7 separate regions of the Homo sapiens genome follow, and regions 1, 2, 4, 5, 6 and 7 are each linked to region 3. Evidence: promoter capture Hi-C in human tissues and cell types (Jung and others, 2019). All regions are on one chromosome and are shown on one strand. Each heading gives the region's core, a stretch centred on a gene start or on the middle of the fragment in contact. The rest is flanking DNA. Distances are from core to core; before and after follow the strand shown.

Region 1 (4,169 bases), core at 791-3,290, 1.4 Mb before region 3:
GTTCTGTCGCCCAGGCTAGAGTACAGTGGCGCAATCTCGGCTCACTGCCACCTCTGCCTCTCGAGTTCAAGTGATTCTCCTGCCTCAGCCTCCCGAGTAGCTGGGATGACAGGTGTGCACCACCATGGCCAGCTAATTTTTGTATTTTTAGTAGAGATGTGGTTTCATCATGTTGGTCAGGCTGGTCTTGAACTCCTGACCTCAAGCGATCCACCTGCCTCAGCCTCCCAAAGTGCTGGGATGACAGGCATGAGCCACCGCGCCTGGCCTTGGCTGAGATTTTTAACCAACTTAGATGCCAGTTAGAATTAAAGGAGAGTCTTACATCTGGCTTCTTCATGCAGTGTTTATTTAAACTGTTTTCTATTACTTTACATCTAATTTTTCTTTCCATGGTTCTATCTCCGTGGGAGACACTGAAAACGATACTCTTGCAAGTGGTAGAGTTCGACGCTTACTGTGTTGGGCATGCTGGCCTTTCTTTAGCTCATAAGCGTGGGTTATGTAGAGAGCAGACCATCACCTGGCCACTTGGATTTCACTGGATACAATTTTTTGGGGGTAGTTTCTGTCTGTTTACTATTGGTAGCACTATTTCCTGGCATAAGAAAGTGAAGAAATAGGTGAAACCCTGTCTCTACTAAAAATACAAAAATTAGGCACCATCATGGTGATGGGTGCCTGTAATCCCAGCTGCTTGGGAGGCTGAGGCAGGAGAATCGCTTGAACCTGGGAGGTGGAGGTTGCAGTGAGCTGAGATCACGCCATTGCACTCTAGCCTGGGAGACAAGAGCAAAACTCCATCTCAAAAAAAAAAAAAAAAAGTGAAGAAACAGTATAATTTGAATTGTCAGCATGTTTCCACCACTCATTCTGGTGAAGGGTTGACTGCTTGTGGGTGTCAGTCACATAATTGACCTTTCATTTTTGTTGGGGCTGTGGGGCCTCGCCTTGGAGCAGCCTCGTGTGCATCTGCTGACTCGCAGAGTTGGGAGCGACTCCATTGGTAGGCTCATTGGTGGCTTTTGGTTGAGTTACAGTGGGTTACTGGTAGGTGATTGTGGGATCAACGACTTTGTAAGACTCATACTCATGGGTCCTTCCCAAAGCATAGGCGTCCTCAACTTTACTTTCCTTTTGGCCAGGAGGGACAGATGATTATTTCGTTGCCTGAGAGTTGCCTGCTCACCACGGACACAGTGATTCGAAGCTACTTAGGGGCATACATTACTAAGTAAGTGACCACACACTTGCTTACCTGGTGCAAGTGCTTCTCCTTAAGGTCTGTCAATGGCAAATATGTCACTTGAGACACAATTCATTAGAACCCAGTCCCTTGTAGAGCTGATAAATAACCTGAATGATGTGAAAAGTTTACTCCATTCTAGAAAGTTTGCCCTCCCTCCCTGCCTTCCTGCCTGCCTGCCTGCCTGCCTTCCTCCCTCCCTCCCTCCCTCCTTCCCTCCTTCCCTCCCTCCCTCCCTCTCTTCCTTCCTTCCTTCCTTGTCTCTCTCTCTCTCTTTCTCTCTCTCTTGCTTGAGATGGAGTCTCACCTGTTGCCAGGCTGGAGTGCAATGTCGTGATCTTGGCTTATTGCAACCACTGCCTCCCAGGTTCAAGTGATTCTCGTGCCTCAGCCTCCCAAGTAGCTGGGATTACAGGTGCCTGCCACCACGCCCAGCTAATTTTTTTTTTTTTTTTTTTTTTGTATTTTTAGTAGAGACAGGGTTTCACCATTTTGGCCAGGCTCGTCTTGAGCTCCTGACCTTGTGATCCACTCGCCTCAGCCTCCCAAAGTGCTGGGATTACAGGTGTGAGCCACCGTGCCCGGCCAGAAAGTTTGTTCTTAATTCACTGTAAATGGCATTTCTAAGGTTTTTAATAGGCTTCCTGGAGTGTGGGTATGATATCCCGATCCATCACTGACTAAGAAATAAAAATTAAATGGGATAATATATGTAAATCACAGCTGAGTGCCTTGGCTCATAGTAGCCTCTTCTCTTCCATCATAGTAGCTCTTGACAAATGTAAGTTACTCTCTCTTATTTCTACCGTTATTGTACTTCAGTTTTCCTTGAACTTTGAAGAGCTGTTAATTTTGTGAAAGAATTAGTTTTATTTAGGTATAGAAGAGAGGAGGCTGATGGGGAAGAACTGTTTTCTGGCACACGTTCTGCTGGGCCTTTGTTTTGGGGCATCTTTGAGGACAGAGTGAGAGCGACCCGCAGTGGAAGGGATTTCTAAATACAAGGGTTGAAAGAGTATACCGTTTTTTTCTTTCTTTTTTGAGACAAGGTCTTGCTGTGTTGCCTAGGCTGAAGTGCAGTGGCGTGATCTTGGCTCCCTGCAACCTCCACCTTCCGGGTTCAAGCAGTTCTCATGCCTCAGCCTCCCAAATAGCTGGGATTACAGGTGTGCGCCACCATGCCCTGCTAATTTTGTATTTTTAGTAGAGATGGGGTTTCTCCATGTTGGTCAGGCTGGTCTCAAACTCCTGGCCTCAAGTGATCCACCCACTTTGGCTTCCCAAAGTGCTGGGATATAGGCAAACGGCCACTGTGCCTGGCGTATACTGTCTCTTAACCATTAGGTAAGTGCTGGTCTTTTTTCCCCCTGGCATGTTTTTGGAAGAGAGTGAATAGGTCTTTTAGGCCTGTGTAGAGACAATGATGCTGTCATTGTTAACATTTTCTGAATCATTCTGAAATTTTGAGTAGAATGTATGGCAGTATAGGAATCTGGATGTCGAAGGATTGATGAAAACTTTCTAAATACATTCAGGCAACATGAGATCTTTTTATCGGCAATTGTGCAAGTAAAAATACTGTGATACATAATTTGTAATAGAGCAGGTAAACTTAGGAATAAAAGCTTTAGAACTGCAACAACTGTATATGAGCATATTCAGTTTTGGTTTAGGTTGGTGCCCTCCAATAGAGCTTTTAGCAATGACAGATGTTTTTTATGCATTGTCCAGTATGGTGGCCACTAGCTCTGAATGGCTATTGTGCAATTAAAACATAGCTTATCTTACCAAGGGATTGAATTTTAAATATTCAATTCTAAATAATTAAAGGTTAAATTTAAATAGCTCTGTGTACCCAGTGATTACTATATCGGATGGTGCAGGTCTCAGTTCTTTCCACCATTTTTTCCCCACCATATTTTATATCTTTACATAGGTGAGACAAATGGACTTAGGTCAAAAGGTTTACAACTGGAGAACCAAGTTGGAAGCAAAGAGGTTTTTTTGCAAAGAGGAATCTCTTGCAAACAAACCTGGAACTTGGCTTAGTGAGTCAGTTTTTCTGACATGTAAGTATGGCTCTTTCAGAGCACTAGCACTGGGGCTGTGCTCCCCTGGAGAGGAAGAGCCTTAAGGAAGGAAGGAAGGAACTCTTGAGTCTGTTAAGTAAACTGAGTGTGTTGACAGTTTGAACACACTCCTTCTGGCAGCAAAACAAACTGCTTGGCTTATTTCGTATTTTGAATCAAAGTAATTCCTTTAAACTGGCTTTTAATTTTCAAAGGTGGAAGCCTCCTCCATCTCCTCTGCTGGCGCTGTGCACCTTTTTAGTTTCAGAAAAGCATGCTGGGCACCGATCTCTTTGGAAGCCTTACCTGGAGATTTTACCCAAGGCGTATACCTGCCCTGTTTGTTTGGAGCCGGAAGTGGTGAACCTTCTTCCCAAATCTTTAAAAGCAAAGGCTGAAGAGCAGAGAGCCCACGTGCAGGAGTTCTTTGCTTCCTCCAGAGACTTTTTCTCTTCTCTGCAGCCTCTGTTTGCGGAGGCTGTTGACAGCATCTTCAGCTACAGTGCCCTGCTGTGGGCTTGGTGCACCGTCAACACCAGAGCCGTGTACCTGAGGCCCAGGCAGCGGGAATGCCTTTCTGCAGAGCCGGACACCTGTGCACTCGCTCCGTACCTGGACCTGCTGAATCATAGCCCACATGTCCAGGTGAGAAGCTGACAAGGGAGCAGCTATTCTATTTGGATAGGAAGGCTTCCGCTGCCCAGAACCTGTGGCTGTAGATGTGGGTGGCACCACAGGGAGAGGTGTCGGCGGCTTCAGGTGACCCTGTCAGGTTGGCCTGACGTCAGGAGGCTCCTGTTGTTCTTCTAGACCCCACTATCCCTCCCGCAGTGCTTGCCTTGGCCCCTTTTCTT
Region 2 (4,196 bases), core at 1,114-3,613, 1.3 Mb before region 3:
CCATTTGGGTAAACACCGCAGCACGGTCTCTATTAATCTAATCTGAGAACACTGGCTATGAAAAGTATCAGAGGCTGGGCAGGCAGGGTGTAAAATGGAGCCAAGTTAGGGAGAATCCTGTGGGATATGGCCACAAAACGGAACATTATACCACAGTGAAAATGATGAAAGTAGGCAACAAGCATTAACATGAATACATTCTAGCCTTTTAGTCTGAGAACCAGAAACCATTCTGTATATTTCCAGCAGGAAGGGTTTACTTCAGGAAATTAGGTGCCTAGAAAATGGTTGCAAGGCCATCCTGGCCAACGTGGTGAACCCCGTCTCTACTCAAAATACAAAAATTAGCCAAGCATGGGGGCGGGTGCCTGAGTCAGGAGAATCGTTTGAACTCGGGTGGCGGAGGTTGCAGTGAGCAGAGATTGTGCTACTGTACTCCAGCCTGGGCGACAGTGAGATTCTGTCTCAAAAAAAAAAAAAAAGAAAGAAAAAATGGTTGCAAAGGATGGTCAGGGAGCAAAAGCCAAGGGAGGTGGTGCTCCTCAGAAGTCAGGAGGTATCAGGAAGCCACTGTTGCTACTGCAGAAGCCCGGTTGTCTGCCGCTGTCGCTGCCCCAGGAAGAGTGAAATCTGTCTTTGTCCCACCATGTGCTTCTCACTGATGATCTCAGAACAGAGACCCTAAGGGCTGTTCCCAGGCTGCCCCATCCTGTGATACATCAGCTGAGAGCAAAGAAGGGGCAAGGATGATGTTGAGGGTCAAAAGACAAGAGTGACATAATGTGGTATGAAAAAGCAACTCCCAGATTGCATGCAGCATATTACCATTTTTTAAAGTACAAAAAATAACATATTGTTTGGGCATTTATGTCACGGTGCATTGGGGCTGGGCTGAACTGGCATGCAAGAGCCAACCGTTAACTTTTCAGGAATTTTGCAAGCCAGTTGTTAAACACAGCCATGATTCAAAATTAATTACACTTATTGTTAAATAAATTATATTGAATTTGATGATAACATTCTAAGCTCATCATTTCTTAATCATTTTACTGCCTTTTATTATTAGCTGTGCTTTTAAGGTTATTTATAGCTATTGCATCTGTTTATTTTTATTTTTTTGAGACGGAGTTTCACTCTTGTTGCCCAGGCTGGAGTGCAATGGCACCATCTCGGCTCACTGCAACCTCCACCTCGTGGATTCAAGCGATTCTCCTGCCTTAGCCTCCCAAGTAGCTGGGATTACAGGTGTTTACTACCACACCTGGCTAATTTTTGTATTTTTAGTAGAGGTGGGATTTCACCATGTTGGCCAGACTGGTCTTGAACTCCTAACCTCAAGTGATCTGCCCGCCTCAGTCTCCCAAAGTGCTAGGATTACAGGCGTGCGCCACCGAACCTGGCCAGCTATTGCATCTGTGTGGTGAAAATACAATACTCTGGTGTGCTACTGTACATCTCTTTGCAACTCTGTGTTCAGTGACATCACCTTGGTAGCCTGGAATATGCCACAATGGGAGTATTTACACCAAAAAAATTGACAAATTCTGCCAATCAGAGCTTGCTTGTTTTGTTGATTATCTAGACACAAGGAAGTGTGGGGAAATGTTAATCATGCAGATTCGACTTAAAAGTTTGTCATGTCTTCAGCTGCTGCATTGTAAATGGCACAAAAATTGAGGAAACAGTCTTCTAGTATTTGACAACTACTACCTGATTTAACAAAGAGTCGCCCTTATGAATGATGAAAATGTTTTCCACCATATGTCTTTGTCATTTATTTTGCTTTCTTCTTACTTGTTAATGTAAAACAAAAATATTAACCAGCATTCATATTGGAGCTACACTTGTTCATCAGTTGCAGCCATATGTTGGCTGCAATTACAATGGTTTGGCAAAAATCAACAAAACCATTCTGTAAGAATCAATTGACTTTACCGATTTACATAAAAGGCAATCTTATTATTTGTAAATTGTGTGCTATACATCCTTCATGTCAAAAAATTTATAAGACACAGCATGATAACTATAGTTAATGTATTTGTCTTGGTCTGTTTGGGTTGCTATAACAAAATATCATAAACTGAGTGGCTTACAAACAACAGAAATTTATTGCTTACAGTTCTGGAGGCTGAGGAAGTCCAAGATCAAGGTGCTAGAAGATTCAGTGTCTAATGAGGGTTTGCTCTCTGCTTCATAGATGATGCCTTCTAGCTGGGTCCTCACAGGGCAGAAGGGAAGAACAAGCTTCCTCAGTTCTCTTTTATAAGGGCACTAATCTCATCTGCGAGGGCTCCACCCCAGTGATCTCCTCACCTCCTAAAGGTCCCTTAAGACTATTGCATTGGGGATTAGGCTTCAACATGTGCATTTTGGAGGGACACACACATTCAGATCATAACAGTATCATATACTTAAAATTGCTAAGAGAGTAGATCTTAAGTATTCTTACCACAAACATAAGCTAAGTATGTGAGGTGAGGTGATGGATATGTTAGCTTGATTTAATCTTTTACAATGTGTACACAGACCAAAACATCACATTATACACTATAAATATGTATACTTTTGATTTGTCAATTATACCTTAATGAAGCTGGGAAAAAATTTTAAAAATTTGTAGTAAACTTGTACAGGAATAGACACACATACCCACACGCATACATTCAATTTTTTGGAGATATGGTTGCTAAACATTTATCATCACATCACTGCATATATATATCATGAACGAAGAGGTGATAACATTTCATATAGCGGTTGCCTATGTGGGGCAGTTGTGGGTGGAAATCCACCAATACCCGCCTCTATTGTGTCTTCCCTGGTTTGCCATTTACCTAGGCATCCAAGTTCAAAGTCGGGGAGCCATGGAGGAATCCTCCCTCCCACTTCACAGCCCATCGCCCGCTATGGTTGAGTTTTCTTTTTCATTTTATTTGGAAAACAGCTTTATTGAAGTGTAATCGATACATTTGAAAAACTGGGCAGGCCACAGGGGCTCATACCTGTAATCCCAGCACTTTGGAGGCTGAGGCAGGAGGATTGCTTGAGCCCAGGAGTTTGAGACCAGCCTGGGAAACAAAGTGAGACTGTCTCTACAAAAAAATAAAAAATATTAGACTGGTGTGGTGGCACGTGCCTGTGGTCCCAGCTACATGAGAGGCTGACATGGGAGGATTGCTTGAGCCCAGGAGTTTGAAGCTGCGGTGAGCTGTGATTGCACCACTGTACTCCATCCAGCCTGGGCAACAGAACAAGACCCTGTGTCAAAACAAAACCAAAACCAAAACTGCACATGTTCGATGTATACGATTTGGTGAATTTGACATAGGCTTATACCCAGGATACTATCCCAACAATCAAGGTAATGAACATATCCTCTCCAAAAGTTTCCTTGTGTTCTTAATTTTATCATATGTTTATTTTTTTGTGGTAAAAATGTTTAACATGAGATCTGCCCTCTTAACACATTCTTACGTGTACGATACTGTGTAAACTATAGGCATGACATTGTGCAACAGATCTCTAGAACTCATTCATCTTGTGTATTGGTTCATTTTCATGCTGCTGATAAAGACATACCCAAGACTGGGTAATTTACAAAAGAAAGAGGTTTAATGAACTCACAGTTCCACGTGGCTAGGGAGACCTCAAGATCATGGCGGAAGGCAAAAGGCACTTCTTACATGGTGGCGGCAAGAGAGAGAATGAGAGCCAAGCGAAAGGAGTTTCCCCTTATCAAACCATCAGATCTCGTGAAACTTATTTACTACCATGAGAACAGTATGGGAGAAACTGCCCCTGTGATTCAATTATCTCCATCAGGTCCCTCCCACAACATGTGGGAATTATGGGAGTACAGTTCGATGAGATTTGGGTGGAGACACAGCCAAACCATATCATCTTGCATAACTGAAACTTTATACCCACTGAAAAGCTCCCCTTTTCCCCCCTCCACAGCCCCTGACATGCACCATTCTATTCTCTGCTTCTTGAGATTTATTGTTGCGTTTTCTTCCTGAGCCTTTCATTGTATTTATGTTTCCACTTGACAGTTTCCAACTTGGAGTCCAGTTGGAAAAATGGTTTTTCCCAGCGAGTCCTCTCCTGTAACTTTCAGAGCACAGACTGCTATGGAGAATGTGGTTGCTAGAGAACATGGAGGGTAGAGAGACACAGAGAGCTCTCCTAGTGTCACC
Region 3 (3,635 bases), core at 654-3,153:
CCGCGCATGGAAGCGCCTGATGACAATCAGGATACCACCAAGGGTTCCTCCCTGCGCGTCCCTCTGGGATCTGAGATGACCAAGACCTCGAATGGAAGGGGGTCGTCCTAAGAATTGAGGGAAGCGAGCTTTACCTTGACGAAGAGGGTGATGTCGTGCTCCTGCCCCAGGGCCCGGGGCTCGGACGCCTCTCCGTCCTCCCGGCGGCCGTTCACGCGCGCGGCCTCGCCGCTACCCTCGGCGGGGCCCTCCTCGGCCAGGTGGTTGCTGAGCTGGGCCTCAGGCTCCGCGGCGCCCCTGGAGGCCTCCCCATGTGGGCTGCTGTCGGGGGATTCCTCTTCGCCCCCCGCTGCTTCCTCCTCCCTTGGCCCCTCCGGGCTCCGCTCTCGTCTCTCTTCGTCCTCCCCCGGCTCCTGCTGTGGCCCATCCCCTACCCTGTCCTCGCCAGCGTCTGCCCTTGCGTCCCCGGGGGCCGCTTCTTCGGACCCCTTTACCCCCGGGACCTCCGCCTCCTCCGCTGCGTCCCAGGCGAGCTCACCGGGGCTGCGCCCCGCACTCTCCCCGGCTGCGACCTCAATTGCCTCGGCCTGGGGCGAGAGGCTGCCGTCCCCCGATTGCTGCGGCTCACCCGAGACCCGGCGCGCCCTTCCTGCCGGACCCTCGGCGTCCATGCTGTCCCCCGCCGGGCCTTCGGCTTCTACGCTGTCCCCCGCCGGGACCCCCGCTTCTACGCCGTCCCCCGCCGGGTCCCCCGCCTCTACGCTGTCCCCCACCCGGCCCTCCGCGTCTACGCTGTCCCCCGCCGGACCTTCCGCGTCTACGCTGTCCCCCACCCGGCCCTCCGCGTCTACGCTGTCCCCCGCCGGGCCCTCGGCTTGTATGTTGTCCCCCAGCGGGCCCTCCGCGTCTACGCTGTCCCCCGCCGGACCTTCCGCGTCTACGCTGTCCCCCACCCGGCCCTCCGCCTCTACGCTGTCGCCCGCCGGGCCCTCCGCTTCTATGTTGTCCCCCAGCGGGCCCTCCGCGTCTACGCTGTCCCCCGCCTCCCCGGACGCGCTACCTTCCGGGACCTCAGGCCTCTGCTCCGCCTCCTCCTGCCTCTCGGGGGCCGCAGAGTCCTCGGGCTCCCTCTGAGCCTCCCCGCGGGGCTCGCCCTGCGCGCCGCGTCCCGGGCTCGCCCCCTCCACCTGCTGCGCGCCGCTTGTCTCCTCCCCTCCTTGGGGCACCTCGGCACCCTCCGGGGCTCCCTCCTCGGCCTCAGTCTCGCCGTGCGCCCCCCTCGTGCCCCGCGCCTCGGCCTCCGGGCCCCTGTCTGGCCCGCCGCCTCCTGCCTCCTTCACAGCGGCGGCGCCCCTCGGCGCCTCCTCTGCGCCCTCGCTCCCCTCCGGCCCTTCTGCCTCCCCGCCCGCGGCTCCTGGCTCTCCGGGTCTCTCAGCCAGAGGCGCGGGGACCTCCGGCGGCCCCTGGGGACCCGGGGCAACCCCCTCCGGCTCCGCGGCCTCGGCCATGGCCGCAGATCCCTGTCCTTGATCGGGACTCCTTCCTTGACGCTGCTTAAGGGTCGGTGGCGCTGGGCAAGGGGCGTGCTACGGGGCCCTCTGTGCTCCTTGAAGGACGCCGGCTCCGGGATCCTGCGGCAAAGGTTTAGCCGGGGCACTGGGGCCTTGCGCAGGACCCGCAGGGCAAACTCCGCTTGGCCCCAAGCCTCTGCGCCCCTTCTGCCCAGCTGAAACTCCCTGGACTCTTCCTCCACTGCTGGAGCTTCTCCCCGATTGCGCGTCTGCTTCCCACCGGGACCCCAATCTCGCCCGCGGGCCGCGGAGGTGCAGTGCACGGCTGGAGAGGGCTGCTTCGCTCCTGCGCCTTTGGAAGTGCCCGGCCCGCTGTCCGCTGTCCTGGGGTTGACCAGAAGTCCTTGGTGCCAACTCCATCCCCTGGGGCTTGGGCGGGGTTTGTCTTCCCCTCCTCCCTCCTTTGTTTGGGTAGCCTAGGAGCTTGGCCAATGACAGCCTTTCTCGTGACCCTTGTGGATGTTGATGAAAAGATTCTGGTTCTCCTGGCCGCTTGGGTGTTGTTCTCTAGAATGGCTTCAAGTTCCAGAGTCACTTAAATCACCCCCTCCAAACACACACCCCGACACCCAAACACCTAATCCCCACCTTACCCCAGGAGTGAAGCATCAAGCTCCCCCGGTACCCAACTGAAGATGTCCACATTGTGCCTGATGTCCAAGAGCAAGGGTGTAAATCCCTGAGAGAAGAAGCTGGGGAGGCTACGCTGGCCGCCTTCCCATGTCTGCAGGGCCCCCGGAGAGGTTCCAGAGGCCCCTCATATAGACGCACAAGGAGCCAGTCGAGTTTCTCTGACCAGAGATGGGCGCTGTTGTCCATGAGGGTCCGCTTCTCCGGGCCTGTCTGGAGGATCGTGGGAGCCCTGCGCTGGAAAAAGGTTACACCTTCATCTCCCGGGTCTCTTAAGACTGTAAGAGTCTGTGTATCTTGCTGATTCTCCTAGATTTCTAAACTCACCACCAGTGCTTCTGCCTCCAAGTTAAGAGCTTGGGAATCTGGAGGTGGAGAAAAGAAAATCCAAGATGTGAAAGAGGGGAGCTATGGAATTCCCTGGGTTAGGGTTCTCCCAGGATCACAGACCCAATACCTACTTTAAAAAGGAAGTTATTATGGTGAAAAGTATGTCGTAAGTTTATTATAAGCCAGGCTACTTCTAGTGGGTTACCAAGAAACTGGGTTACCCAAGGTGGCACTATGTAAATGTGGTGGAACGGGGATCCCAGCTCAAGACTGACTTGATTCATCAGGCTTTATATGGCTTTGATATTGGCCTAAGATACATGAGCCCCTCATGCCCACAGAAGGTTGTTTTCGTTGAAAGAGCTGGGTGTGCCTTTGATGTGGCTTGGGGTCACACCTTTGGCCATGAACATAATGTGTCTCCTTCTACTTCCCATTGCTCATCACTGATGGATGACAGGACAGGAGCCCAGAGACACTCAGCTTCATGCTACCTTTCTCCAAGGCTGTGCTCTGTCTGGGTAGGTACAGGCCAGAAGCTTCATCACCACAAAGTGGCATCTAGTCAAAGCATGACACTCACACAGGTGAGCCAGAGATGCACGTGAGCCGTAAAAGCTCTAGGCACCTAGAAAAGGAATCCTGCTGCATTCACCGGGGCAAGGTAGCAGCCATCACCCTTATCTTGTAAAGAAAGATGAAGCCAGCACGTTCAGCCCGGAACAGCAAACACAGTACAGGTTTACAGTGCTTTATGCAAATCCCATGAGCCCGGATGTGTTTCAGAAAACAGAATTGTTAGAAAGATGATTGAGTGATTTTACTGTATATTACATAACACAGAACATCACTTTGTGATCAAACACATTAATATTTCTGCAGTAAGACAGGCATCACATTTGGTGAGATATGGTAAAATCATACAAGCTTCAGGCCCCCCACCCCCAGTTTAGGTTCACCTCCAGCTGAGTTCAAGCCTTTCTGGTTCTGATTCTAGATGAGTTCCCAAAACAGCTTTCAGTATTCAGAGCCTTTTAGGATTTCAGAATGTGTATAAAAGGATTGTGGACCTGTGAACCATTGAAGGGCTCTGGGTTTATTTGC
Region 4 (4,071 bases), core at 107-2,606, 1.3 Mb before region 3:
GATCCATCCATCTTGGCCTCCCAAAGTGCTGGGATTACAAGTGTGAACCACTGCGCCCGGCCAATCCTTTTCTTATCACAGAATAGTTTTGATCACTGGAAAACTGCCAGCTTCTCCAGGAAGCCAGATCTTTTGGAAATCATGTAAAAACACCAACAGCAATTACAAAACTAGCAACACAAAATGGGTTAAAAAGTCTTAATGTAGATCTATTCCTATTGGCTTTTTTGACAGTAGCTGAGAGAGGCTTAGAAACTATGATTTCAGGTTCAACGACACATGGCAGAGTGTATTTGGGGAGGAGAGGCTGCAGGTGAAATTCCAGGGCAGAGGGCCCTTACTTCTCAGGCAGCAGCTACCTGGCCATGGGTTGGTCACACTTGTGTTTGAACAGTGGGCATCGCTCAATCTGAGACAGTTCATGGGGAGTCAGGATGGTCTTTAAGGTTCTTCTTTATCTCTTCTTCTGCCTCTTGACTGGCTCCACTCTTCATCTTCCAAAAGGATAATCCAAGGGGTCACATCATTAGTGCACACTACTGTGCACCCCATTGGTCAGCACAGACATAGGGTGGAAGGATCGGGGGTGACTACTGGCTCATTGAGAAGCTCTAGTTCGCACTGATTCTCGGTCCTCACTTGGCCACGCATAGCAGAGGGTCTTTTGCAGATAGGCAGTGTCTCCAGGGCCCTCCCAGGATGGCTTACCTTGGAGAATTTGCCAGGCTTGGGTTTGGCCCTAGGCTGGCAGGCTCAGAGAAGATTGGCTGAACACATTAAGAGATGGTTTTGTTTCTCTCTCTAGCACAGACACACACCTCTCTCATGAGACTCAAGTGTAAAACCGGATCTCCAATCCATTGATTTTTTACAAGAAATGTAACTGCACAGAGCCTGGATTCTCAAAAATGCCAGGCAGGTCTGATTACCTGGGGAATGAAATCACAATCAGAAAGAAGTGTGATCAGCTTGGATTCAGAACTGGGGATATCAGTGGCAAAGGTTCAGTCAGAATAATGTATGCTTTCTGCAGTGGATTGAATGGTGAGCCACTCAAAAGGTGTGTCCACCTGAACCCTATAAATGTGACCCTATTTGGAAAAAGAGTCTTTGCAGATGTAATTATGTTAAGGATTTCAAGATGAAATCATCCTTGATTAGGTGTGCCCTAAATCCAGTGTCAATTTACAAATTCTATATCCTTACAAGAGAAGAAAAGAAGGCCATGTGAAGACAGATGCAGAGATTGGAGTTCTGAAGCTACAAGCCAAGGAGTGTCAAGGATTCCTGACAGCCCCCAGAAGCTAGAAAGAGGCATGGAATGCACTGTCCCTCAGAGCCTGTAGAAGTAGCCAACCCTGATGACACCTTGATATCAGATTTCTGGCTTCCAAAACTGTGAAACCATACAATTCTGTTGTTTTTAACCACTCAGTTTGTGCTAATTTGTTATGGCAGCTCTAGGAAATTAATACACTCTTTCATTTAGATAGAGCTGCCCCTGGGCCAGGCAGCTGGAGTCCTTGGGCCAGCCCCTTCCCTGCACAGTGCTTAGATGGGGCCTGCCAACATTTGCCCACAGGCTGGGCAGATTCCATGGCTGGCCACTCTAGTTTACAAGGAGCACATTTTGTCTTTCGACATGGTAATCCAACCCCATGGGTGGATTGCTGGACTGGGAGCTATTCTTTCTCTTAAACCTGCCATTTACATGTATCATCTGATGGTTTTGCAGCTTAGCTATCCAAGTGGCCACCTTATTCCCCAAACGTTCTTGGGGACAGTGATGAAAGTGGAAGATATACTTCTGCAGAAGTATATTTCACAAGGACTCAAAATACCTTGTTTGCATGTTTTACTTCTATGCACATTTTCCCATAAAGTCTTGCCAGCCCCGCTTGGTTCCAGGACTTGTCTATTCTCCTGGGGCTTTAGTAGTGAAATCAATGTGTGGTACAGAGTCCACCTCATCAGTAGTTACTGGGTACTGAATAAAAGAAAAAGCAGGGTAAGATTCTCTAAGATTGGGTATAACTTTCTCTCCAGGGCCAAACCCATCCCTCCGGTCTTCTTCAAAGAAGGTACTGATTTAAATTTCTTTCCTAATTAAACATTTTTCTAAGAAACATGTTTCATGGAAGATGGGATGCTTGTGCAGATAGGAGTTGCTCTTCTGGTGATGAGATGGGATGAGGATGGTGCGGGTTTGGGGAATGCATGTGCACAGGTGTGGGGCTGTCACATTGGCTGCAGGAGTGGGGACGGAGCCAGCAGGGATGACCAGAAAGGCCTGGAATATGCATGAGCAGTTCTGACTGTCCTTGGTAAGTGACATGGAACCATTGGAAAGGATTAGGCCAGGTAATATCATTATCAGATTTGATTTTTTTTAAATTAATCCATTTATTTATTTATTCATTCATTCATTCATTTATTCATTCATTTTAGAGATAGGGTCTTACTCTGTCACCCAGGCTGGAGTGAAGTGGTGCAATCATAGCTCATTATAACCTCAAACTCCTGGGCTCAAGTAATACTCTTGCCTCAGCCTCCCAAGTAGCTGGGACTACAGGCACCCACAACCATGCTCAGCTAATTTAAAATTTTTATTTATTTATATTTTTTGTAGAGACAGGGTCTTACTGTGTTGCCTGGGCTGGTCTTGAACTCCTGGCCTCAAGTGATCTCCTGACTTGGCCTCTGAAAGCATTGGGATTACTGGTATAAGCTACTGTGCCCTACTGGACTTGAATTTTTGAAGTCCATCTGAATTGGTTGGGGTGGGATAGGGTGGAGGAGGCAGGGAAAGCAGCAAGCAGACTATGGAAGTGAATAGGAAGTATCTATGTGGAATTTGGTCTTGAGTTGCAAAGCTTTAGCATAGTCCACATTTCAGTGCATGCCCCATTGCCTTTTCCATTCATCTTGCAAAGATGTCGTAAAACATCTTTCAAAGATGAGATAAAAGTAGAAAGGAACATGCAAAAGCAGTAAAAATAGTTAGTGTTATAGCAGCTCATTCAGTGACATTTCATTATCCTGGGCAAACCAGTACAACTGACCTTTTCACACAAGGCAGCTGGGAGTAGGAGCAGGAGGAATGGATAGGGATGGGAAAGGCAGTGTCCCATGGACTGTATCACTTGGGGCCTGACTTTGCAACCTTTATAGGAATCTGTGATCCAGATGCCTTGTTAAAGCCAAAATAAATTTTATACACCATTAAACCAATGTTGGTTACCAAGTATTTTTGGAAGGACGATTATGCTTCCATAACATGTATTAAAACCAAAAATAGGCATAAAAAGATTCAACAATTGGGAAAGAAGTAGCCCCACTCTTCCAAGGATCTAGGGCCACATTCTCATGGCATCTTATGTTTCTAGCAGTATGCATGGCACATGGTGGCTGCCCGTTACATTAAAAATATAATGAATATAGGGAACCCTCAAAGCCCATTAAGGATTTCTTAGCTGTTTGCCAGGGTACAGTTTTTTCTCTTTTTCTTATATCACACAACTAGAATTATTCAAGCTGAATAGAACTAATCAAACATTTGCCTTTACAAATACAAGGGACTTCTACCCTGTACTCTGTCTGGTTGTGCCTGCATATGCCTTTGTTTTTCTTGGTCATTTGAAAACACAGGCTGAACCCTGAGTTTGGAACCCATTTTGCCCCTTTCTCCTTTTTTTTTTTTTTTTTCCTTGTTAGCTGAGATTGGGAAGTAGAATGCTGAATAAATAGAAACTCATTCTGGGGCTCAGGGCTCTTTAGGAGGTAATTCTGACCTCCAGCCACTTACAGAATATTGGTAATTTGACCTCGACTTGATTTCCGCATAAGCTGTCATTTTATACACTCAGAGAAAGCAAGAGAGGACATAAACGAAGAGGATATATTTCTAGTGGCACACTAAAACAGAATCAATTACCAAAAACTATCCTTGCTGAAGTGATAACACCTCATATATTTTCTTTAATTTTTGTTTGCAGTTGTATATCTTGAGCTTCTATGGGTTCCAGTACACAGTTTGTAATAACTTTTGGGGTTGGTTATAAAATTTTCCTA
Region 5 (3,686 bases), core at 1,051-3,550, 1.3 Mb before region 3:
TAGAGTCGATGTGGTATTTTTTTTTTTTATTGCAGTGGGACGGGCATTACCGATCTGTATGCGTAAGTGTTGCCAAGAGAAAGGAAGGATGATGGTTAGCTTACCTGCATCTTAAGCCATGCAGTGAAAAAGGTTCAGGGTTTTCTTAACCAGAAATGGTCTGAATGTTTAATAAAGGTAAACATTTATTATTTAGTGTTTTATATCATGTGGCAATTTTAGCTGATGTGGGATCTGACTCTTGCCAACCAATTTGAGTCTGTTAATGGCTGTTTGTTGTATTTTTTATTTTCTGTTTTCACAGAGACCATATTGCCCAGGCTGGAGTAGAGTGGTGCAATCATTGAATCACTGATCACTGTAGCCTCAGACTCCTGGGCTCAAGTGATCCTCCCACCTCAGCCTTCCCAGTAGCTAGGACTACAGGCAAGCACCACTATGCCCAGCTAATTAATTTTTTTTTTTTTTTTGTAGAGATGGGGTCTCACTATGCTGCCGAGGCTGGTCTCAAACTACTAGGCTCAAGCTATCCTCCTGCCTTAGATTCCCAAAATGCTGGGATTACAGGTGCGGACCACCTTGCCTGGCCTGTTTTCTTTTTGATACTTGGGGTGGACCAAAAAAAATCAATCATTTTCATTAAATTCAGTTGTGTGCTTGCCTTCAGATTTCCCTGGAAGCATCCACTGTCAGCCTCGAGGGAATTAATAGACCTACACCCTTGGGATAGATCAATGTGCCCTGAAAAATGTGTCTGGTTTGTTGTAATGCCACACTGGAAATAACAGAAAGGCTGTTTATATAGACAGTGGTCCAAGGAAGAAAGTGGGTCTGGATGAATGGCATCTGCTTATGTCCTGGTCTTGGTTACAAGACAGGCATCTCATCATTCCAGCCATTCTGCCTGCAGTCAGGATCTGTGGAGGACCCAGTGCCTTCAGAAAAGGTTAACAGAAGCTGCAAGAGGGCTCATCCATGAGTCTTCTCCGTTAAGCACATAATTCAGCTCATTAGACTTCAGGTTTCAGAATCGTGGTCTTTTTGTGATCTAAATAAGTTATGGTCTCTCTAATTGGACAGGATGTAGGGTGTTTTTGACAGCCACTGTTATTTTGCTCTTAAATACATACCAACAGGCTATTAATAAATAAATAAATTTAATATTAATTAATAATTAAAAATCATTAATAATTAATAAATAAATTATTTATTAATAATTAATAAATTATTAATAATTAATAAACAAATCACTTATTAATAAATTATTTATTATAATTAATAAACAAGTTATTTATTAATAGATTATTTATTATAATTAATAAATAGATTATTTATTATAATTAATAAATAGATTATTTATTATAATTAATAAATAGATTATTTATTATAATTAATAAATAGATTATTTATTAATAATAAATAATCTATTTATTATATATAAGAATGAATTAACAAAAATTCTCTGTGGCCATTGGTTTCCTGGTAGAACTCCCTCTTTTTCTTGTATCTACAGGAAATGTCTTTCTAGCTTGTGTGTATGTCTGCCAGGCTTGCCAGTTCGAAGTCGGCCATGGGAGGGGTTGTGTTCAGAAGCACACACCATGTGACCTGTCAGGCAGATCAAAGCAGGGATTTCAGGGCTGACTACAAGGGGAAATGGTTAGTAATTAATAAAAGGATGTGGAATTGGTCATGTTGACTGAAAGAGCCCAGAACCTTGGCGAAAGGCTCCCGGAGGCTGCCAAGATAATAAGAGTGGCTGAGCTGAGTTATGTATGGGTGAAGCTCACGGGTGTTAATGCCACTGGGTGAGGGGAGTGGTGAGGGGTGGAATGAGAGGTTTACAAGCTTGACGGATCTCACCCAGGCCCAGGCCTCACTGATTGTAAGAGTCTCTTCAGCTCTGGCCAGAGTTTTGGTTTGTTTTTAAATGGAGCTTTTAGGAGCCATTAAGGACATACAAAAGCTTGATAATGGTGTTTAACTCTGAGAGTCAAGCTGTGGTTTCTCATTGGCCATTTCTGGCTTTTCATGGCTTTATGTAAATATATTTCATTTCCAGATTTAGGATCAAAGAAACCTTTCTCTTGCACTTGCTCATTTTCTTCCCATGTGTGGTCTAATGCATCGATGAAACCAAATAAATCCGCAAGGGATGTGGGAGTCTGCTGGTGTCTCACCATGGCTGTGGCCACTGTACACCTTCTGGTGGTTTGGTGGTGAGGAGTAGCCTGTGGGAAGGGGAGGTGGCATTGATGACGATGTTGGGAAAGAGGGTATGAGAGGTGAGTCACATCTCAGCAAGGGGCTGGTGAGTATGTCTTGGCCTGTCTCAGCTAACAAAGTTGACAGCAGCAAGAGGTGGAAGGTCTGGATGCAGCTGTGTGTGCCTGTATGTGCGTATTCTTGGGAGTTGGCAGACAAATCATGGAACCTCCAAAGAAATTTTCCATTCATTTGTTAGGAGATTTCAGAGCTTATAAACTGCCTCATGGGTTTTGAAGCCATTTCCCCAAGAGGATGATGACGTTTGATCTCTTGTGCAATAGTCATAAATATCTCAGGACGTGATGTCCCTGTAAGGAGTAGATTCTGTTGGTTCCAACCAAGTGTCAGTGCAGTTTCTTAACTTCTCTCTTGTCCTTTGCCCCCCTTCCTTTCTCTTCCACCCTCTACCAACCTCCTGTAAGGTTAGTGCCAGGGACAACATGGCACCAAGTTGGGGAAGCATAGAGAGCCAAGTAGGCAGCCTTGATGGACTTTGCTGGCTCATCTTCAGTGGGTTACAGTGGAGTTTCTGACCTCAGGGCATATTTCAATCTCATGGGTAACATATATTTTGCACATTTAGAATAATTTGATATAAATATGACAGATGTTACGATAATAAGCAATATGAGCACTTGCTAATTATTCTTTGTCTTCATCTGTAATTTCAAAATGCAAAAGGGGTTGCAAGACTGATGTGGAGAGTGATAAATGGCCAACAAATGCTTGCTGGGTGCCATAAAGTTCTCTTTATGAAGAGAACTCCACACGCCTGTTATATCATTTGTCACATCATGCCACATAGTAGCACCCCAAAACTCAGTGACTGCAAAGGAGAACTCATTGTGGCTGCACACCCGTGGTGGGTGTGGCTGGGTGGTCCTGCTCCAGGCATCGCTCATTCTCTGCCTGGGGTTGGAGGTTAACCACGGGGTTAGCAGTGGCATGCTCTTCTGGTGGAGAGGTTTGGGAGGCAAATGGGAAAACAAAAGGCTGCTTCAGGTCTGGGCTGCCCTGGCAAACTCTCCTTCTGCCCACATGCCATCAGCTGAAGCAAGTCACATGGCCAAGCTGAAAGTCAAGGGGAAATAAAATGCATTCTTTGCACGATGAGGCTGGGCAAGGGTATAGACACAGAGAGAGGCTGAGATGGGGGCCAATCCTTCGGACCACAGTCTCTCTCTCCTTGCTCATTTTGGCAGATACATCACCTTACCGTTGTCAGGGATGGCTTCTATGAGGAGATGACATTTAAATTGAATTCTGGTGGGTCGTGGTGGCTCACGCCTGTAATACCAGCACTTTGGGAGGTCAGGGTGGGTGGATCACTTGAGGTCAGGAGTTTGAGACCAGCCTGGCCAATATGGTGAAACCCTGTCTCTACTAAAAATACAAAAATTAGCTGGGTGTGGTGGTGT
Region 6 (3,771 bases), core at 576-3,075, 1.3 Mb before region 3:
GTCTTAGAATGCAACACCTTTCTCCTTTTTTTCTTTAATCATAGCCTCTTATCATGAATTCCTCCGTGGTCTCTCCCCAGGGTTTCTGAAGGATGACCTCAGAATCAGCTGATGCTTGTTGCAGTGGCACTTCTTGGGCCTCACCCCAGACCCAAAGAATTGGAATCTCTGGGGATGAGGACCTAGATGGTGCAGTTTTAACAAGCACACAGAGATGCTTATGGCATGAACATGTGGGAAGCCCTACCTCACACCTTCCTGGCTTTCCAATTCCTACCATTCCAGTTAAACTCAAAGTAGTTATTGAATTCTTACATGCGAACTTCTGATATGGATATTACTGCATTTTCAAAAATATTCACACAAGCTCCAAAGTCCTCGTGATTGACTTTCAGACTCTGCAGGATGCGGGGGTAGTATAGTGGGGAGGGGGCAGAGAGACATAAAAGGGGGTGGGAGGGGCTTGGAGGTCAGTCTAACCTAGGTTACATTTCCAATCCAGCTGCATAACTAGCTGAATGACCTTGGGTGAGTGATTTCATTTTGTGAAACTCAGATTTCTCTAAGTGGGGGTGATAATCAATCATGCAGAATTGTTTCAGGGCTGTTTAGGAGGATTAAATGAAAGAATGCATGTAGAGTTAGGAGGTGCTACTACGTGACAATTTTTTTTTTTGGGATGGAGTCTCGCTCTGTTGCTCAGGCTGGAGTGCCGTGGCGTGGTCTTGGCTCACTGCAACCTCTGCCTCCCGGGTTCAAGTGAGTCTCCTGCTTCAGTCTCCTGAGTAGGGATTACAGGCACCTGCCTGCTAATCCTGCTGATTTTTTGTCTTTTTAATAGAGATGGAATTTCACCAAGTTGGCCAGGTTTGATCTCGAAATCCTGACCTCAGGTGATCCACCGGCCTCGGCCTTCCACAGTGGTGGGATTACAGGCGTGAGCCAGCGCGCCCAGCCTATGTGACAACTTTTATTGCTCTTTAGTTTATTTCTTTTGTCTTTTTCATTCCTATACTTCTATTTCTTGGTTGTCTTAGTTCCTTGTCTTTTTTCCATATTATCCTCTTGGAGAACTTTAAGGTCTTATCTTAGCATCTTCTTTTTCAGAAACTCCTCTCTAAAGTGATTTCAGCTTATTCATACCTTTTATTCTTGACCTTGTTAGGTTAACTGTGTAGAAATCCCTCAGGTGGGGAGTACCCAGTAGGTATCTGCTGTTTTGGTGTGTTTAGCACTTCTTCCTCCAGTAACAGTACCTCTCTTCACCTTTGAGGTCCTGCTGGTCCTCCCCTAACATGTGTGGTTGTGGGGGGCTGAACGGGCACCTGACGCAGGGTGTGCTGCTTATGGTGCCACATCCTTCCCACCATGGTGATTGGTCCTGGAGTTGTCAGGTAATGCAAACGGGGCCAATCAGCGTCGTTCCCCGTAGTTTTCTACATTGGACTTGTTGGTAGAACTTACTTTTGTTTCTGGAGCTCCAAGTCCCCTTAAAGCTCTAAGACTTCTTTGGTCTGCTGATACTTGCTTGGGGCGGTGGGGTGGGGGCAGCAGTGAAAGTGGGGATGGAAGGCAGCCTCTGTTGCCTCCTGGACTTTAGGTGTGCTGGGGCTTACCCCTCTCTTGCCGCTAGGGAAACACCTTCCAATCTCTGCTTTTCTGGAGGCGCTCCCTCTTCAGAGATGCTGGGTGCTGGCTCCCAAGAATTTACAGCTCTCTTAATTGTTTGTATTGTACATCCTTTTTCTTCCCCAAATCATGTACACACTGTCAATGTGGTTGAGCCTGCGGGCAGCATCCAGGCAGAGTCGTACCTAGAATTACCATTTCCCTCTATCCCACAGGTCCTGTTGGTGAATCTGACACATCAGGTTCAACCTTTATCCAGCACAGTAGACTCTGTCCCAGGGACTGTCACAGTCTCCTCTATTCCCACCTTCTGTGGGCTTCCCCTACTTGGCACTGTTCTACCTGCTCCTGGGCTCAACAGAGATTCCAGTAATTTGGGGGGAGGTTTCTGGACCCCATGATAATTAGTGGATGCCATGCATGTGGGTGGGTCTTTCACCTCCACAAGCTTCATCTACAGCCTAGACAAGATTCCTGCTGCACATATCATTAGAACTGTGCAAAAGTGTGTACACAACATTCAAGTATGGGAATAGTTAATAATTGAGGGATCATTAGTGGGTGCAAATTCAACAATTTCAATTCTATTGAATTGGTGAAAGTTTCAATGGGATGTGGTAGAAATAGGAGGAGGCAGGAATCAAGGTCCACATATAATTCTTTTGTCTCTGCCAATGAGTAGCTATGACTTTAGACAAGTCAGGAAGTTCCTTCTTTCCACAATTTTGTCAATGGCAAAATGGCAACTGTAAATTATGAATGATTCCATGACAATGATTTTAAGTGGAAATTTAGTGGCCCATGGCTGGATTTTGAACCATCTACTCAGGTCTCACAGTGCTGAGGGCGTGCTCCTTGGTACTCAGGATTTCTGAGACCTCAGTACCTGTTGCTGACACGTTTGCATTAAGACGGTTCCCCCCTCCTTCCATGGTTGTTTGGATCACTGGGGCAAGCCGGGTAAATCAGCTTTCCTGGGCACTTAGAATTGGGTCTCAGAAATCCTGAGTACCAAGGAGCACACAAAAATCCAGAAGTCATGGAGTGGCCATAGGTATTCCTTAGAGCTATAAGATGGTCTTTTTCTACCCTATGAAGTGAAGTAAACAATGAAGTTCTGGAGAAAGTAGTTGTACAAAGAGATGTGGAGCTAAGAGGCAGAGAGCTCGTGGATTTCCCAGTCCCCCAGTTGCTCATGAAGTCTCCTTATCCTCGGGTTCCATGAAGCACCCCCGCATCCTTCTCACAAATTTCATTTTCTGATCAAGGTAGCCCAAGTTGGTTTTCATTACTTGCTTTGCCTTGACTAAGATAATCTCTACTGTTCCATAATAACATCCAAATTTGGGGTGGTCCTTAGCAAATGCTTATGCTAAGAAAATTCCTAAAATAAGAAAAATCATTCAATCTATGTTGAACATTTATGGAAAGAATAAGGATCATAAATAAATATATCCTAAAAGTGCTTGAAGTGGGAAGTAGGATGTTTTCCTATTCCTTTCCAGCAAGATCTAAAATCATCCCACCAGAAATCAGGAGAACAGATTCCCAGAATAAACAGGAGGCCATCAACCAATCTTTTGCAAAAAGGGTTGCTCTCAGTTTATTTAAAAATTTATAATAATTACAAAAATAATAAGACATGGCTCATGTACTGCTACTATCTTTTAATGGAACAACATTGGTTATTTAGTCCTAGAGTCTCATAACAAGTCAACTGAATGTTTATTGTGTTTGAATGAGGCTCCAGGAAGCTGCAAGAGAGGTATACAGTGGATGCTTAGGTTTTGGACCTCTTTTTTTTTTTAAAGACCATTTTTTTCTACTCCCTTTCCCTTTTTTAGTAGTTAGTCTTATATACTGGAAAATATAACTTTCTATGATGATACAAATGTTTTATATCTGTGCTGCCCAATATGGTAGTCACTAACCACATGTGGCTTTTGAGCACTTGATATATGTGGTTAGCATGACTGCAGAGCTGAATTTTAAATGTTATTTCAGTTTAATGAACTAAAGTTTAAATTGAAATAGCCACATGTGCTAATGACTACTGAGTTAGACAGTGCACATTTAGTCAGTGTTGTTAAGACTTCATTTGAGGGAGCTAAGCTATGAGGATGCAAAGGCATAAGAATAATA
Region 7 (4,206 bases), core at 1,252-3,751, 1.3 Mb before region 3:
AAGTGATCCACCCACTTTGGCCTCCCAAAGTGCTGGGATTACAGGTGTGAGCCAATATGGCCGGTCTAAAAATGTGTTTTAAGGACTAGATTATTTTTTTAAAGAGTATTGATTTTTTTCTTTTTCTGTATTCCACAGATAATTAAGCAAACAGGCCAAGGGTAGTGATGGCTCACACCTGTAATCCCAGCACTTTGGGAGGGTGAGGCAGGAGGATCACTTGAGGCCAGGAGTTTGAGACCAGCCTGCTCAACACAGCAAGACCCCGTCTCCACAAAAAAAAAAAAAAAAAAAAAAAAAAAATTAGCTGGGTGTGCTGGCACATAGCTGTAGTCCCAACTATTCTGGAGGCTGAGGCAGGAGGATTGCTTGAGCCCAGGAGGTTGAGGCTACAGTGAGCTAGGATCGCATCACTGCACTCTAGTCTGGGCTACAGAGTGAGAACCTGTCTCAAAAATACAACAAATAAAATAAATAAGATAATTAAGCAAGCGAGTACCACAATAAACACATTTAAATAAACACATTTTTGTTAAAAATCACAGTAAATGGAATTCACACATTTTTGGCTATGTAAGAAGAGTTCCAGTAGAGTAGCCTTGATTCTCGTAAGGGCTGCTAGTGGCTTCCTCTGCTGATGAGGAACACAGGACAAATCCAGGACATCTGATTTTTCTTGTGGTACGTGCATGAAAGCTAATCTGAATGACAATACTGGAAAAAAGCAAAGAAGAGTTCATACAGCCTGATGGCAGGTTTCTCCTCTTTGCTTGGAGAGAGGCAGGGTGGCATATTCGTTCATCAGCAGTGCAGGGGTTACTCACGTGTGTTTAGCCTTGACATCTTTCATGTTAAAAATCTATCTCAGGGCCAGGCACGGTGGCTCACGCCTATAATCTCAGCACTTTGGGAGGCTGAGGGGGGTAGATAGCTTGAGGTCAGGACTTCAAGACCAGCCTGGCCACCATGGTGAAACCCCATCTCTACCAAAAATACAAAATAAAAATTAGCCAGGTGTGGTGGCGGGCATCTATAATCCCAGCTACTCAGAAGGCTGAGGCAGGAGAATCACTTGAACCTGGAAGGCGGAGGTTGCAGACAGCCGAGATCACATCACTCCACTCCAGCCTGGGCAACAGAGCGAGACTATGTCTCAAAAAAAAAAAAAAAAAGAATATATTTCAGAATGAAATGCAAAAGAAAACAACAGAAACTATAAAACCACACCTTGCAAGCAGCAGAACAATTTGTATTTCCCACGGCTGCTCACTGTGGATCAAGGGCTTCTGGGTTGTGAGGGGAAGCATAGGTGGTTCATTCATTCTCACCTAACTTCTTTTTTTTCACTACAGAAAGCACATCGGAAGTGACATTATTTTAGGGATAATGTTTAAGCCATTTTAGGCTTTTGAAGGCATAATTTAATTTTATGTCAGGGAGAAGGCTAAATTTGGATTAATAACAAATTACTTGTGCACATCTCATAGCTGCTTGGGATAATGTTACGGTTGGTCTCAATGTACAAGATTATTTCCCTGTTGGAAAATTAGGGGCTTCCCCAGCCTGAGCACAGCAGTGTTACATAGCAGTAGAAATGGGAGCCACAGCTGAACTTTCTGGAAAAAGAAATCTGAGAGCAGGACAACATCGAGAGGGCCTTTCATGGTCCCACATAGAGCGGGCATCAGGATTCTGCGGTTGTCCGGAGCTGTGCAGGTAGAAATGGTGGTACCCAGGGCCATGCAAGTTTTTCTTGGCCAGACTGATCCTTCGAGGGAAGCTTTTTGGAGTGGTCCATTGAGAAATGGAGAGTGTGCTAGAATTAGACTATGAAGCCCTCATGGAAGCAATCAGCTCCACCAGCATCAAACCTCGGAGTTGTCATGGGGACACATAGAATGGTATCCTCAGACAGGGAGGGGCCCAGGACCTGTCACCAAGCCCAGGAACACCAGCTCTGGGCTCCACTTCCTGAAGCCCTGCTTGGCCTCCCATTCAAAATCACAAGGAATATCAAAACATGCCTCCCCAAATCTTACCACGCAAAATCTCACTCTGAAAGGGGAAGAAGAGAGGAAGTTAAGGACTGAGGAGGAGAAGCGAAGCGTTTCTTTTGTTTTTTTGAGGGTGTTTTTGGTTTGTTTTTTGTTTTTTTGAGATGGAGTCTTGCTCCGTCACCTAGGCTGGAGTGCAGTGGTGGTATCTTGGCTCACTGCAACCTCTGCCTCCCAGGTTCAAGCAATTCTCCTGTCTCAGTCTCCCGAGTAGCTGGGACTACAGGCGTGCACCACCACGCCCAGCTAATTTTTGTATTTTTAGTAGAGATGGGGTTTCACCATGTTGGTCAGGCTGGTCTCGAACTCCTGACCTCAGGTTATCCACCCGCCTCAGCCTCCCAAAGTGCTGGGATTACAGGTGTGAACCACCATGCTCGGTGGAAAAAGAGGGATTTTAGAATCATTTCACTATTTCCACTGAAAACTTGCTCCACTCCTCCACAATCATTCATTTTCATGGGGGTAGAGGATAGCGGTGGGGAGGCTTGGAGTGATGTATATTTGTCTCCATATCGTAATATTTCCTTCCCATTAAAATGTGGTACCTCCAAATTTGTGATATAGCATCGCAATGTAATCTGGCAATGTACAAAAAGAAAAGGAAATAAATGTTGGTCTGAAGTAGGGTAAATATGACATACAATCAGTGATGTCAGCAGCTATCAAAATTGTAAAACATAATCATGGCTCTTGATTCTAGCATAGTGAAGAGCTGGGTTGATGAACTGTGACCCATGGGCCAAATCCAACCTGATGCCTGTTTTTTGTTTTTGTTTTTGTTTTTGAGATGGAGTCTCGTTCTGTCACCCAGGCTGGGTGCAGTGGTGCGATCTTGGCTCACTGCATGCAACCTCCGCCTCCTGGGTTCAAAGTGATTCTCCTGCCTCAGCCTCCTGAGTAGCTGGGACTACAGGTGCGTGCCACCACACCCGCCTAATTTTTGTATTTTTTGTAGAGACAGGGTTTCACCATGTTGGCCAGGCTGGTTTTGAACTCCTGAGCTCAAGTGATCTTCCCACCTCGCCCTCCCAAAGTGCTGGGATTACAGGCACGAGCCACCGTGCCCGGCCCCTGATTCCTGTTTTTATTAATAAAGTTTCATGGAAACACAGCCACACCCTTCATTTACATATTGCCTATAGCTGCTTCGTTCTTACAAAGGCAGAGTTGAGTAGTTGCAACAGAGACTATGTATGGCCTGCAAAGCTGAAAATATTTACTATGAAGAAATAGAAAAACTTTACCAATCTCAATTTAAAAATTAAGATGGGCTTTTCACAAGATGGCACCGAAAGCAAAGAAGGAAGCTCCTGCCCTCCTAAAGCCGAAGCCAAAGCGAAGGCTTTAAAGGCCAAGAAGGCAGTGTTGAAAGGTGTCCACAGCCACAAAAAAAATGATCCACACGTCACCCACCTTCCAGTGGCCCAAGACACTGCGACTCTGGAGGCAGCCCAAATATCCTTGGAAGAGTGCCCCCAGAAGAAACAAGCTTGACCACTATGCTATCATCAAGTTTCCGCTGACCACTGAGTCGGCCATGAAGAAGATAGGAGACAGCAACACACTTGTGTTCATAGTGGATGTTAAAGCCAACAAGCACCAGATCAAACAGGCTGTGAAGAAGCTCTATGATATTGACATGGCCAAGGTCAACACCCTGATTCGGCCTGATGGAGAGAAGAAGGCATATGTTCCACTGGCTCCTGATTATGATGCTTTGGATGTTGCCAACAAAATTGGGATCATCTAAACTGAGTCCAGCTGGCTAATTCTAAATATATGTATATCTTTTCACATAAAAAAATTAAGATGGAAACCAAAGCAAAGATGAACTATGGAGATAGTCTAAGCAGTGATCTTCTACTATAACATTGGATTGCGTTTGTGTCTGCCTTCCCTCTTGCCCCACACCTGCTTTAATTTTTTTTTTTTTCTCTCTCAGATACTTCTGGGTAAAAGTGACAAGCCAACTGGCAAACCTGCAGAAATTAAATTACATGCAGAAGATGGCCTGGGATGGGAGCAGTGGCTCATGCCTGTAATCCCAGCACTTTGGGAGGCTGAGGCTTAAGGACTGCTTGAGGCTAGGAGTTTGAGACTAGCCTGGGCAACATAGCAAGAGCTCGTCTCTACTAAAAATTCGAAAAAA

Evidence for each region. The method cuts DNA at HindIII sites, captures the fragments that hold promoters and counts their contacts. A contact is called where the count stands out against the background at its distance.
Region 1: a contact is called between a fragment that was not itself captured here and the fragment with the promoter of CLIC6 in region 3, in 1 of the 25 tissues and cell types used here (dorsolateral prefrontal cortex).
Region 2: a fragment that was not itself captured here is called in contact with the fragment with the promoter of CLIC6 in region 3 in 1 of the 25 tissues and cell types used here (dorsolateral prefrontal cortex).
Region 4: a contact is called between a fragment that was not itself captured here and the fragment with the promoter of CLIC6 in region 3, in 1 of the 25 tissues and cell types used here (dorsolateral prefrontal cortex).
Region 5: a contact is called between a fragment that was not itself captured here and the fragment with the promoter of CLIC6 in region 3, in 1 of the 25 tissues and cell types used here (dorsolateral prefrontal cortex).
Region 6: a fragment that was not itself captured here is called in contact with the fragment with the promoter of CLIC6 in region 3 in 1 of the 25 tissues and cell types used here (spleen).
Region 7: a contact is called between a fragment that was not itself captured here and the fragment with the promoter of CLIC6 in region 3, in 2 of the 25 tissues and cell types used here (dorsolateral prefrontal cortex and lymphoblastoid cells).

What each region holds. Positions count from the first base shown.
Region 1 is chr21:36,045,373-36,049,541 of GRCh38, reverse strand. SETD4 (SET domain containing 4) reads left to right here. Exons shown (of 12, transcript NM_017438.5): 5 at 1,146-1,234; 6 at 3,531-3,960. Among named protein-coding and RNA genes, the nearest start is that of SETD4, 13 kb to the left of the region's middle. The HindIII fragment of the contact is 5,011 bases long and covers 1-4,169 here.
Region 2 is chr21:35,977,542-35,981,737 of GRCh38, reverse strand. The region is part of intron 4 of LOC101928269 (a long non-coding RNA gene); the gene reads left to right. Among named protein-coding and RNA genes, the nearest start is that of LINC01436, 26 kb to the left of the region's middle. The HindIII fragment of the contact is 4,270 bases long and covers 229-4,196 here.
Region 3 is chr21:34,667,262-34,670,896 of GRCh38, reverse strand. It overlaps CLIC6 (chloride intracellular channel 6), which reads right to left and starts at 1,903. Exons shown (of 6, transcript NM_053277.3): 1 at 135-1,903. The coding sequence starts at 1,508. RefSeq lists silencers at 191-270, 1,171-1,610. The HindIII fragment of the contact is 4,429 bases long and covers 1-3,264 here.
Region 4 is chr21:35,948,031-35,952,101 of GRCh38, reverse strand. No RefSeq gene overlaps it. Among named protein-coding and RNA genes, the nearest start is that of LINC01436, 55 kb to the left of the region's middle. The HindIII fragment of the contact is 4,357 bases long and covers 1-3,534 here.
Region 5 is chr21:35,923,728-35,927,413 of GRCh38, reverse strand. No RefSeq gene overlaps it. Among named protein-coding and RNA genes, the nearest start is that of LINC01436, 80 kb to the left of the region's middle. The HindIII fragment of the contact is 4,384 bases long and covers 109-3,686 here.
Region 6 is chr21:35,996,204-35,999,974 of GRCh38, reverse strand. All of the region lies in intron 1 of LOC101928269 (a long non-coding RNA gene), which reads left to right. Among named protein-coding and RNA genes, the nearest start is that of LINC01436, 7.2 kb to the left of the region's middle. The HindIII fragment of the contact is 5,560 bases long and covers 1-3,771 here.
Region 7 is chr21:36,015,680-36,019,885 of GRCh38, reverse strand. It overlaps the pseudogene RPL23AP3. Among named protein-coding and RNA genes, the nearest start is that of LINC01436, 12 kb to the right of the region's middle. The HindIII fragment of the contact is 6,263 bases long and covers 1-4,206 here.